Linked DNA regions of Homo sapiens: region 2 is linked to region 1. The links are contacts of gene promoters, found by promoter capture Hi-C in human tissues and cell types (Jung and others, 2019). All regions are on one chromosome and are shown on one strand. Each heading gives the region's core, a stretch centred on a gene start or on the middle of the fragment in contact. The rest is flanking DNA. Distances are from core to core; before and after follow the strand shown. Region 1 holds the start of KCNB1 (potassium voltage-gated channel subfamily B member 1). Region 2 overlaps PTGIS (prostaglandin I2 synthase).

Region 1 (6,281 bases), core at 126-2,625:
GGCTCAGCCCGGCCCCGGGACCGCCGCTGCCCACGGGCGGGGGCGCCCGGGCGGCCGGGACGATGCGCGGTCCCTGGCCCCAGGAGGCGGCCGCCCTGGGGGTGAGTGTTGGGGCGTACGGCCTTCCGTGGGGGTGCATGGGGACACGGACAGGGGGTTTGCCTGCCGCAGCTCGGCCTGTTGGTCTGCTCGGGCTCCGCAGCTCCAGGCTGGAGGGGAGCGGGGTGGGAGGCAGGCAAGGGCTGAGGCCTGAGGGGACGCGCAATCCCCATTCTGGGGCTAAGGCGTGAGCCCTACATGCAGGGGGTGCTCAGGGGAACCCCCCGAAATCACTAGTGCGCGGTAGGAGGATGGCACCTTTTGAAAAGGCCAGAAAATTTAGCTCATTTCCCCGCCTCCCACCTCCCCCACCCCTTCCCTTCCAAGCCCGGGGAAAGGCGCAGAACCCGGAGTTATAAAAAGCCATCGCGGGAGAGGAACGAGGAGGAGGAGTAGGAGGAGGAGGAGGAGGAGGAGGAAGAGGAGGAGGAGGGGGAGAAGGAAGAGGAGGGGGAGGAGAAGGAGGAGAAGGGGGCGGGGAAGGAGCGAGGGGAGGACGGAGCAGGCGGATCCCGAGGACTCTGCCCGCCCCTCCTGCGGTAGGGTTGGGGGCTCAGAGGGAGAGGCGAGAGCGGGCTTTTCCTCCTCGCGGCTCACCTTGTCGCTGGAGCAATCTCAGGAGATGCTCCAGTGTTTGGGAAGAGGGGTCGCTCCAGGACAGAGGGGCTGTTGTGCACACCCCGTCTGTTGTGACCTCGGACAGGTGGGCACCTGGAACCCCCGGAATTCCCCCAAATCTTTTAAGATTTGGAAAAAAGCCCGCTGCCATTCCCCCACCCCCAAAATCTTGATTATCTCGAGAAGGGGAAGGAAAAGAAGAGAACTCGTTAAAAAAAAAAAAAAGAAGGAAAGAAGAAGAAGAAAGAAAGAAAAAGATAAAGAAAGAAAGTTTTCATGCAGCTCCCCCTCTCTCCCCATGGCGGGGCCAGGTTCGGGACTCGATCGGGAGACCCATAATGAAGAGAGTTTCAGCACTCTAAGGGGCGGACAGCGCCCCGGGCGGCTGGGTCGCGCCTGGGCCGCAGAAGCCCAGGGTGGGGCCTCCCGGGCTCCAGGGGCATCTCTTGGGGCCCTCTCCCCGCCCCGAGGGGCGGCCCCTCCCTCCATCCATGGGGTGCGGCGGACTTCAGCACCGGCGGGAGGGACAGCGACCATCCGTCCTACCCCACTGAGCCGCTTAAGCGCGGGGGAAGGTCAAGGCCGGCTGGGAGCCTGGTGGAGAGGTGGGGGGCGGGGGGACAGCATGCCCAGCTCCCCGTTTGCTGACCCGCGTCCGCTTTCGCTTTCTGCCTCGCAGCCGTCGGGATGGAGGTGAGAAGACGGCCGTGACGCGCGCCCGCGGGGCCCCCTGCACCCCCAGCAGCCCACAGCGCTCCCTGCCCCCCTCCCCCGCAGCAGCGGGCCTTGCCGTCGAGTGACAGCGGCCTGGGGGGGCAGGGGGGGCGGGGGCGGCCGGATCAGCGATGCCGGCGGGCATGACGAAGCATGGCTCCCGCTCCACCAGCTCGCTGCCGCCCGAGCCCATGGAGATCGTGCGCAGCAAGGCGTGCTCTCGGCGGGTCCGCCTCAACGTCGGGGGGCTGGCGCACGAGGTACTCTGGCGTACCCTGGACCGCCTGCCCCGCACGCGGCTGGGCAAGCTCCGCGACTGCAACACGCACGACTCGCTGCTCGAGGTGTGCGATGACTACAGCCTCGACGACAACGAGTACTTCTTTGACCGCCACCCGGGCGCCTTCACCTCCATCCTCAACTTCTACCGCACTGGGCGACTGCACATGATGGAGGAGATGTGCGCGCTCAGCTTCAGCCAAGAGCTCGACTACTGGGGCATCGACGAGATCTACCTGGAGTCCTGCTGCCAGGCCCGCTACCACCAGAAGAAAGAGCAGATGAACGAGGAGCTCAAGCGTGAGGCCGAGACCCTACGGGAGCGGGAAGGCGAGGAGTTCGATAACACGTGCTGCGCAGAGAAGAGGAAAAAACTCTGGGACCTACTGGAGAAGCCCAATTCCTCTGTGGCTGCCAAGGTGAGTCTGGGATCTGGGGGCTGCTGGTCTGGGGGGATCTGCTTGCATCCCCATATTGAGGACCACTGCTGGAGGACTCTGGCTTTGTTCCCAACGATGAAGATTAGTAATGGGGAGGGGCTAGGACTGAGTCCCCAGAGGTGAGGACCAACCCCCTCAGACTTTTCCCATGTGGCACTGGTCACTCCATCTTTTTATTATCCAAGACGTTATACCCCTACTTGGTTGGAGAGGTTTCACAGGGACCCATAAAAAGCCACAGCAAGAAGATGGACACTGACGAATAAGAGAGAGAGCACAGAGAGACAACAGTGGCTTGCTGGGGTGGAGTAGGGTTTGCTTCCCTGTGAAGTCCCAGACCTAGGCTGGATTGGATCACCCTGTGATTTTAATATCTCCATATTTATAACCTCACTCTGCCCCAGCAAGGGAAAAAAGCAGCTTACAGACATGCTTACAGGACATTGAGATACTGTCAGATAGTTTAAACATAAGTAAGAAGGGACCCCGAGGGGTGGGTGTGGACCCACACGACACATGCAGTTGGTTGTGGATGCTTGCGGGTGAGGGGTCACCCCCTGGTTACTTATTTATTTGGTGAGTTTATTTCCAGAATGGTTTGGTGCAGCTTGTAAAGATGTTTCAGCTCTTGGAACAAGATGTAAATTTCAAAATAGGAGAGAAAAATGAGGCAATGTGAAAAATAAAGGAGGAGGAGGAGGAGGAGGCAGGAATGAGTTTGAACACAAAGAGTGGGCCAGAGAGTCTTTGGTGCTGCTGGGTAATGGCAGGGGCTGTAGGGGACTGAGGAAGGCTTGGGGTGGGAGCCAAGGCAGGGCAGGAGGGCACTGGTTGATCAGCAACTTCTCTACGTCAGGCTGGGATTTGGGGTTGCCTGGGAAAGATGGGGCCTGTCTTCATGTGCCCGAAGTGCTGGGTGCTGGGAGCAAATGACAAAACAGTGTGTGCAAGGCTATAAAAGAGGTTCTGTGAGGTTCACGGAGAACCCAGAAAAGAGAGATGTTGATGTTGAAATCCAGCAAGACCAACTTGGGAAACATGGGGAGAATGTAACTGAGTGTGGGGCCTAAAAAAAGGGGTCAGGTAAGTAGATTTGTGGTAAAAGAAAGAGGAGAGGAGGAAGCCTAAATATCCAGCCATATCTTACTAGCTAGGGCTGACTCCTGTCCAGCCCAGCCTTTCATTGTGGGGTCTCCGGCTCAGTTCTCACTGAAGGCCCACCTGCAGGTCCCAGTCTGAAGGGAGACTCCGTGGGGTCCTTCCTCCAGATCTAGCCACCCAAGGAGAGGCCCCTGAGAGTGGATGGAGAAGGGGTGGCTGGTAAGAGGGTGGAGGGAGCCCCCACGTGTTTTTTTCGTTTCCCTGTTGGCCCTAACAAGGATGTAGAGGCTCCTGGGCCTGGCTTCCTCCTCTGAGGCTGTGGGCTGTCTCTCTCCATAATCCCGCCCCCAATTTTGTGTCCAAAAAGCCTCCTCCTAAGACAGAGTCACTCACCCTTAATCAGCTTAGGATCAACAGACTTATTTTGCTATTTCCAGGCATGACACAGGTTCTCCCACTGCACATCCCATTTAGGCCCAAATGTGACTCTCCCTCCCTGTCCCATCCCTAAGACATGAGAACAAGGTACAGGGAACTGGACAATTTGCCCTCCCAGAGAAGAAGCAGGCACAGGGCCATGTTTTGGTCTGGCAGCAAGACCCAAGCACCGGGGCTTGCAAGAGGTGCTGTTTGGGAATAAAGAACCTCTCCTCTCCCTTGGGTTAATCCGCTAGCAGGGACAGCCTTGTGACCTCTCCATGATCCCAGTCTGGGGCTGCCAGCTCACATTCCTGGCAGATGGACCATCTAGGATTTTCTGTAGCCAGAGCTGAAATGGGGAGGGAGGCAGGCTCACTGGCCCTCAGAATAGAAATCCTGGCTGCCAATGATCAAACACCTACTGTGTATGGAGTGTAACAACGCAGCTCTGTTATTATCCCACCTTTCGCAAACAGTGAGGCTGAAAGAGGTTAAGTAACTTGCCTAAGGTCACACCACAGGCAGTCAGGAGTAGCCAGAAATCCAAACCGAGTGTTCTTTCTATAATGATCAAGTGCCGCAGCCTCCTCCCCAGTCTCCCGGCTTCCACTTTTGCCCCTGCAATCCATTCCCCACATAGCAGCCAAAGTGAGCTTTTCAAAATGTAAATTGGATCACATTATTCATCTGCTTAAAATCCTCCAGAAGTTTCCCATCACACTCAAAATAAAATTCAGACTTTTCATCCTGGCATACAAGGCCCAGGCAGAATCTGGCCCCCATGACCTCTCTGGGCTCATCTCTTTTGATCTCCTCTGGTTCACTTGGCTCCAGCCCCACTGGCCTTGCTGTTCCATAAACAGGCCAGAGTTTATCTGACCTCAGGACCCTTGCACTTGCTGTTTCCGCTGCCTGGAATGCTCTTCCCCAGATTCCCCCTTGGCCAGCCCCTTCTCCCCCTTCCTCATTTGAGCAGGTCCCTGCTCACATGTCCCCTCCTCATACAGACCTTCCTTGACCGCTGTTCTAAACAGTTTCCCTCCCCTCACTCTCTGTTGCATCATGCAATGCCTTTCCTGCAGAGGCCTTAAACGCCATCTGAAATTATATTTCCTTCTTTGTGTGTCTCTGTTTCACACCCACAAGAATGTGAGTACCATGAGTTGATTCACTGCTTGATTCCCAGCACCCATGATGGTGCCTGGCACTGAGGAGCATGTGGAATGAATAAATGAATGAATGAACGAATGAATGAATGAACGAATGAATGAATCAAGCAAGCAAGCAAGCAGTCAGTCACTGTGTCTCAGGGTTTGGGGACCTGTCACCCCTTCTCACTGCCCACCTGCAACCCAGGTCCCTGTGCCTCTGGCCTCCTTTGAGTCATCTGCACCTTGCCCATCCCATCCCCACCCATCCCCCCAGCTTGGATGCCTTGCTTGTCAAAACAAGCAAAGCCTGTGGAAATTGCTTAGAACTCACAGAGTGACAGGACCAAATGGAGGATCATTTCTAGGTGATTGTAAGATACAAAAGTGGCCATATCTCATATGCTGAAGAGCAAGGATGGATCTGGTTCTGTGCCACTCCCCACTTCCATAGCTTTTAGCTAATTTCTCCAACTTTCCAAGTCCCAACCTTCCACCTGTAAAATGGAGATAAAAGGCTCACCTTACAGGGTCTTCATTAAATCACATTTGTCAAAATTTTGCTCAAAGCCTAGCACATAGCAGGTGGGGATTGTTGTTATAAATGCTAAGGAAAAGAGTCTTTTTTCTAGGGCTGGGTGGGCCGAGTTGCTGCAAACCCTTTCCTTCTGAGAGCAGCAGGGCCAGGGAGACTGAGCTGACACTGTTAATAATTGATGGGATGTTCTGGCAACTCGGAGACAAACCAAAGCACAGGCCCTAGGCTTTGCCATCAGGGGAGCGAAAATCAAAACCCATTAGGCAAAAGGCAGTGTGATTGATTCTTGTTTAGAAGATGGGGACAGCCCCATTGGTGTGACAGGGTTGCGGTGCTGGGGCTACCACGGGGCTTTGGCTTTCTCGGAAAACTCGACAGGCTTTTCTCAGTAGGAGAGACAGGGAACTGATTTGCCAGCCCAGGAGTGTCTGTGATCCCTGGGATAGTCTCAGGATTAAAGCCCTGAGATAACTTCCTAATTTCCAGGGTAGCTTATGTTTGTTGTGCCCAGCACTGATTAGTGGTGCTTCATATCTGCTATCTCATTGAAATTCCTCCAACAGGGATACAACCAGGTAGTATGCCAGTTAGGGATGCTTTGGGCTGCAAGCAGCAGAATAGAAAACTCAAAGTAGCTTCAATAAGGAGGAAGATGCATCATTGAATATAATATGAAGTTCCAAGGCAGTTGGTTTTAGGTTGAGTTAATGGCTCAATGATGCCACCAGGATTCTAGATTCTTTTCATCTCTCTGCTCCTCTGCTCCCCAACCCCTGCAAGTGGCTTGGTCCTCATGCTTGATGCTTCATATCACAAGATGGCTGCCCAGTTCCAGCCCTCAGACGTACATTCAGTGATGTTTAATCCGTGAAGAGAAACATTTTCTCCTATGCTCCACTTTCTTTCTTTTGTTTTTGAAATGGA
Region 2 (6,990 bases), core at 420-2,919, 47 kb before region 1:
CAACTACTCAGGAAGCTGAGGTGGGAGGATCACTTGAGCCCAGGAGGTTGAGGGTGCAGTGAGCCAGACTACGCCATTGCACTCCAGCCTGAGTGACAGAGCAAGACCTTGTCTCAAAAGAAAAAAAACAACAAAATAGCAAATTGTACTGGAATCCCAAGTAGACAGCAAGCCTCTGTTTTCCCAGTGGGAAGATTTTTAAAATTTTGTCTTTTTTTGATTTTTGGGGCAACCTAAATATTGAAATAATTAGGAATGGAAGTAAATAGTTGCATTTCTCCGTATCTGTTTTGTTGAACGTCTGTAGTGAATTGTATAAATGTGCTGTAACCATTTCGAACATTTGCTTTCTTCCCACGACCACATTTCAGGAGGGGGCTTTATGCAGACTCCCCCTTTAACTACACAGCTTTGCTCATCTGCAGGGCCCCAGGTTGAGCCACCAAGCTCAGTTTTCCAGAATCTTCTCTTCCTCACTCCCATATGCACTGAATTCCTTGAATCTCTACAGTATATGATGTTTCACTGGAAATTATTTTTGGGGGGTTTGCCAGATTTTCTATTATTTTATTTTAAAAATTATTTCGCGTGGTTTAAACATTAAAAATGTAAAGTAGATTACAAACCACATACCCGATATGGGGTTAACATCCAAAATAGATAAGGAACTCATACAACTCAATACCAAAAATTCCAAATAACATCTGGGAGCGGTGGCTCACACCTGTAATCCCAACACTTTGGGAGGCCGAGTTGGGCAGATCACGAGGTCAAGAGATCGAGACCATCCTGGCCAATATGGTGAGACCCTGTCTCTACTAAAAAATACAAAAATTAGCTGGGCGTGGTGGTGCACGCCTGTAGTCTCAGCTACTCGGGAGGCTGAGGCAGGAGAATTGCTTGAACCCGGGAGGTGGAAGTTGCAGTGAGCCGAGATCACGCCACTGCACTCCAGCCTGGCGACAGAGCGAGACTCTGCCTCAAAAAACACAAAAATCCAAATAACCTGACTGCAAAATGGACAAAGGACCAGAATAGGCATTTTTCCCAAAGAAGACATACAAATGGCAACAGGTATGAAAAGGTGTTCAACATCACTACTCATTGGGGAAATGCAAATCAAAATCACAAGGAGATATCACCACACACCCGTTAGAAATGTCAAAAGATGACAAATATTGGCAAGGATGTGGAGAAAAGAGAACTCTTTCGCACTGGTGGTGGGAATTTAAATTGGTATAGCCATCATGGAGAACAGTATGGAGGTTCCTAAAAAATCAAAAATAGAGCTACCACATGATCCAGCAATCCCTCTTCTAGGTATATATTCAAAGGAAATGAAATCACTGTCTTGAAGAGATGTCTGCACCTCCAATTCATTGCAGCATTATTCACAACAGCTGAGACATGGAAACAAACTAAGTGTCCATCAGTGCATGAACAGATACAGAGATAGTGGTACAATGGCCCCCTCTTAACCTCAGGGGATATGTTCCAAGACCCCCAGTGGATGTCAGGAACCATGGGTGGTACTGAACCCTGTATATACTGTTTTGTCTTATACATACATAACTATGACAGAGTTTAATTTTTTTTTTTTTTTTTTGAGACAGAGTTTCGTTTTTGTCTCCCAGGCTGGAATGCAATGGTGCAATCTTGGCTCACCACAACCTCCGCCCCCCAGATTCAAGCGATTCTCCTGCCTCAGCCTCCTGAGTAGCTGGGATTACAGGCATGCACCACCACACCCAGCTAATTTTGTATTTTTAGTAGAGACAGGGTTTCTCTGTGTTGGTCATACTGGACTCGAACTCCCGACCTCAGGTGATCCGCCCACGTCGGCCTTCCAAAGTGCTGGGATTACAGGCGTGAGCCACCATGCCTGGCCTGATAAAGTTTAATTTATAAATGAGGCACAGTAAGAGATTAACAACATAATAAAATGAAACCAATTATAACGATATACTGTAATGAAAACAAAATAAGGGTTACCTGAACACAAGTACTACCATACCATGACAGTTGACGTGATAACTGAGACAGTGGCTCCCAAGTGACTAATGGGCAGGTGTGGTCTACAGTGTGGATACACCGGACAGAGGGATGATTCACCCCCCAGGCAAGATGGAGCAGGATGGCACAAGAGTTCATCATGCTACTCAGAATGGTGTGCGATTTCAAACTTAGGGAGTTTTTCATTTAATATTCTTGGACCATGGTTGACTATGGGTGATGGAAACCTTGGAAAGTGAAACTGGATAAGACAGGACTGCTGTGTATGTAAATCCACGAAAGAATGTTATTCAGCCATAAAAAGGGAGAAATCCTGCCATTTGTAACAATATAGATGAACTTGGAAGACAATATTGTAAGTGAAATAAGCCAGACACAGAAAATCAAATACCGCATTATGTCATTTATACGTGGGAGCTAAAAAAGTTGAATTCAGAGGAACAGTAGAACAGTGGTTACCAGGGCTCAGGAGGTGGGGAAATGGGGGTGTGTTGGTTGAGGGTATAAACTTTGAGTTATAAAATGAATAAGTTCTGGAGATTTAATATACAAGTATACAATGTATTGTATACTTGAAATTTGCTAAGAGAGTGGATCTTAAGTATTCTCACCATGCATGCACGTGTGAGTGTGCACCTATGTAAGGTGATGGATATGCTAATTAGCTTGATTGCAGCAATCATTTCACACCATATTTGTGTATCAAAACATCATGTTGTACAACTTAAATAAGAATTTTCCTTTGTCAATTATACCTCAGCAAGGCTGGAAAAAAATTAAGTAATAACAGTGGTAAGTCTCCTTCCTTTTCTTGTCACATCCCCTTCCACCAATTCCCACTGCTCATAATTGATTAGTTTTATTAGTTTCAAATGGATCCTTCTAGAGTTCCTTCACACAAGTGCAAGTGAATGTGACTATATTCTTATTTTTCTTTTTTTCCACAAATGCATACTAAACACGTGGTTGCTGGCACTTTGCTTTGTGCTAACAATATATCACAGCAATAGATAACTCTTGGGTAAGGTTTAGTGTGTCCTCTACACTGCTCTAAGGGATATACAAATGTAAACTGATTTGATCCATGATCCAATCACTGCTATATATATATTTTTTTTGTTTTTGAGACAGAGTCTTGCTTGCTCTGTTGTCCAGCCTGGAGTGCAGTGGTGCAATCTCCGCTCACTGCAACCTCTGCCTCCTGGGTTCAAGCGATTCTCCTGCCCCAGCCTCCTGAGTAGCTGGGACTACAGGCGCCCACCACCATGCTTGGCTAATTTTTGTATTTTTATATTTTTGTTAGAGATGGGGTTTCACCATGTTGGCCAGGCTGGTCTCGAACTCCTGACCTCAGGTGATCTGCCCGTCTCGGCCTCCCCAAGTGCTGGGATTACAGGAGTGAGCCACTGCACCCAGCCCACTGCTATATTTTTATCCTGTGTTTTTTGCCAGGCAGGACAGAGCAGGATGGCACAAGATTTCAACACACTACTCAGAACAGCATGTAATTTAAAACTTATGACTGTTTATGTCCGGAATTTTTCATTTAATATTTTTGGACCATGGTTGACCATGGGTAACTGAAACCTTGGAATTCAAATTCTTTTGTATTTTGAGTATCACTCTGTCACCCAGGCTGGAGTGCAGTGGCTCCATCTCAGCTCACTGCAACCTCCACCTCCCGGGTTCAAGTGATTCTGCTGCCTCAGCCTCCCAAGTAACTGGGATTACAGGTGCCTGCCACCACCCCCAGCTTATCCTTTTTTGTATTTTTAGTAGAGACGGGGTTTCACCATGTTGGTCAGGCTGGCTTCAAACTCCTGAACTCAAGTGATCTGCCCACCTTGGCCTCCCAAAGTGTTGGGATTACATGCGTGAGCCACTGCACCCGCCCAGAATGCAAATTCTTTGTTATACAACACTATCTTTGACTCATTTTTGCCAAATGACCTTCATATGCCTTTTAAAAAAATTGTGGTAAAATAATAAATAACATAAAATATACTATTTTAACCATTTTAATTGTATAATTCAGTGGCAGTAAATACATTCACAATGTTGTATAACCATGCCGTTATCTATTTCCAGAAACTTTTCATGATTCTAAACAAAAGCTTTGTGCCCATTAAACAATAATTCCCCACCTGCCTTTCCTCCCAGCCCGACATATCTTCTATTCTACTTTCTGTCTCTTCTATTCTACTTTCTATTCTACTTTCTGTCGAATAGTATACTTCTATTGTACTTTCTGTCTCTGAATTTCCTGTTCTAGGATTCTCATTATATGAGATTTTGGAGACAGAGTCTCTGTCGCCCAGGCTGGAGTGCAGTGTCGCCATCTCAGCTCACTACAATCTCCGCCTCCCGGGTTCAAGCTATTCTTGTGCCTCAGCCTCCTGAGTAGCTGGGATTACAGGTACACACCACCATGCCTGGCTAATTTTTTTTTTTTTTTTTTGTATTTTAGTAGAGACAGGGTTTCACCATGTTGCCCATGCTGGTTCTCTAACTCCTGAGCCCAGGAAATCTGCCCACCTTGGCCTCCCAAGGTGCTAGGATTGCAGGCGTGAGCCACCATGCCTGGCATATGCGTCAGAATTTCATTCCTTTTTAAGAGTGAATACATTGTGTGTATATACTGCATTCTATTTATCCATTCACCTATCAACCGACATTTGGGTTGTTTCTGCCTTTTGGCTACTGTGAATAATGCTGCTATGAACATTGGTGCACGAGTATCTGTTTGAGTCTCTGGTTTCAGTTCTTTGGGCTATATACCTAGAACTAGAATTACTGGATCATATGGTAATTCTTTAACTTTCTGAGGAACTGCTAAACTCTTTTTCACAGCAACTGCAGTATTTTACATTCCCACCAGCAATGCATAAGGGTTCCAATTTCTCCACGTCCTCACCATCACTTATTTCCTATGTTTTAAATAGTAGCCATCCTCATGGTTGTGAATGGTATCACACTGTGGTTTTTACATGCATTTTCTAATGACTAATGGTGTTGAGCATTGTTTCATGTGTTTATCAGCCATTTGTATCTCTTCTTTGGAGAAATATCTATTCAAGTCCTTTGCCAATTTTCAAATCAGGTTGTTTGTTTTTTATTGTTGTTGAGTCGTAGGAGTTCTTTTATATATTTTGGGTGTTAGACCCTTATCAGATATATTATTTACAAATATTTTCTCACTTTCTGTCAGCTGTCTTTTCATACTGCATTACCTTTTTTGCTTAATTATTCATTGATTGTGCAAATATAGAGTGCCTCCTATGTACTCAGAACTGCTGTAGGCACAGGGGAAAAGTGGAGAATGGTCCTGCCTTGCTTTTTAAAGTCATCTGTAAACGCCGTGTTTACAGTGATATTCAAGATTGCAGTTGTGTGGTCAGACTTCAAAGAATGCCAGTTATTTCTAAAGCTGTGTTAAATTTCTTTGCCTCTTTTTTTAGCCATCCCATCAGATGATGCTTAGAAGTATCCAGAGTTGGCATCAACTGAGGTGGTTTCAACACTGCCCGCGCCCTGCAGGCCTAAACCTCTGGATGCCCAGTTCCCACGCACGTGATTTTGACATGATCAATCTGGGGTTGGCACCTGGGCATCCAGAGATTTAAGAGCTCCCAGGTAATTCTTCAGAGAGCCTGAAAAGTGGAGAAACATAGGAAGATAATGTATTTCAGTTGAACACTTAAGCTTATTGCTTTACATTGAAATGTCACCCGAAATGGTGACATTCATTTCAATGTAAAACAATGAGCTCAAGTTGAAGTCTAAAAGTTAAACATATTCAGCGTATTATTTGAAAATGAAGCCAACATACTTTAAAAAAAAAACATAGTCTACATTTTCGACCCTTTCAAATGCCCTGTGAGGTGCAGCCAGGTTTAGAATCGCTGGTGGGGCGAGTCTTCCTGAAACACGGCTTGTGGTTCAGAAGAGTCAGTGAGGGAGTTTCCAATACTTTGAAACTTCAGAGCAATCCAAAATGACTCTCACTTTTCCAAGGGGTGATTTCGGAGAAAACCAAATTTTATATTTTATATTTTTGTTTTAAACTTTATATTTGTGCATATAAATAGCATTACCGTGGAGCTTTAAAACAATGTATATTAAGGCTCATGTATGGTTCATGAAAATATTTTAAAAAAAAAAAAAGAAGTAGAAAAGAAAACAATATCTAAATAGTGTCATTCTTCAGTGCCCGGCTTTATCCCCTTACCAGTCTGCCCTTGGGAACTCTCTGTGTCTGTAGGTAAAATGTACTAACTCACTTTCACTGCTGTATGTTTCCAGAACATAAACACACCATTGTCTGTTTAATGGTGATGCACGCTAGTGATCTGTGGGCCAAAGTTGACCTTCAGAGATGCTTCTGTGGTCTGCACAGTGATTAAAAACTTTTTACTTGGATGCTAACCTTAAAAAACATCAGAAGGTTATACATAATTGTCTGGATTATCAGCTTCCTTTGAAAGCACAGGCCTTCTGGCCATGCTGGGGTGTTTCCCTCTCCTGCCGAGGGCTGGTTGGTGGGCTAAGTGCCATGGCCCCTTTCTGGCCCGTCTCTCTTTTACTTGGCCTGCCTTCTCTGGAGTGAGTTGAGTTTGAGACTCCAGCCCAATCTGCCAGTTAGGTTGTTGCTGATGTCTTTCTGTGATTGCTGCTGTGCTGAGCCTGCTCACAGTGGCCTCCTCCTCATGCACATGGGCTGGCATTGCTCTGGGGTTGGACCCTGGGGAGGGAGAATGCTGCTCAGTGTTTAGTGTTCCTTCTCCTGCTCTGGAAAGAACTACCATTTATTTAATGCATGATATAGTTTTGCTGTGTCCCCACCCAAATCTCATCTTGAACTGTAGCTCCCATAATTCTCATGTGTTGTGGGAGGGACCCAGTGGGAGATAACTGAATCATGGGGGTGGTTTCCCCCATACTGTTCTCCTTGTAGTGAATAAGTCTCATGAGATCTGA

The links. The method cuts DNA at HindIII sites, captures the fragments that hold promoters and counts their contacts. A contact is called where the count stands out against the background at its distance.
Region 2: a fragment that was not itself captured here is called in contact with the fragment with the promoter of KCNB1 in region 1 in 1 of the 25 tissues and cell types used here (aorta).

What each region holds. Positions count from the first base shown.
Region 1 is chr20:49,477,762-49,484,042 of GRCh38, reverse strand. KCNB1 (potassium voltage-gated channel subfamily B member 1) reads left to right here and starts at 1,375. Exons shown (of 2, transcript NM_004975.4): 1 at 1,375-2,129. The coding sequence starts at 1,563. The HindIII fragment of the contact is 16,129 bases long and covers 1-6,281 here.
Region 2 is chr20:49,524,771-49,531,760 of GRCh38, reverse strand. All of the region lies in intron 5 of PTGIS (prostaglandin I2 synthase), which reads left to right. Among named protein-coding and RNA genes, the nearest start is that of PTGIS, 40 kb to the left of the region's middle. The HindIII fragment of the contact is 6,504 bases long and covers 1-4,921 here.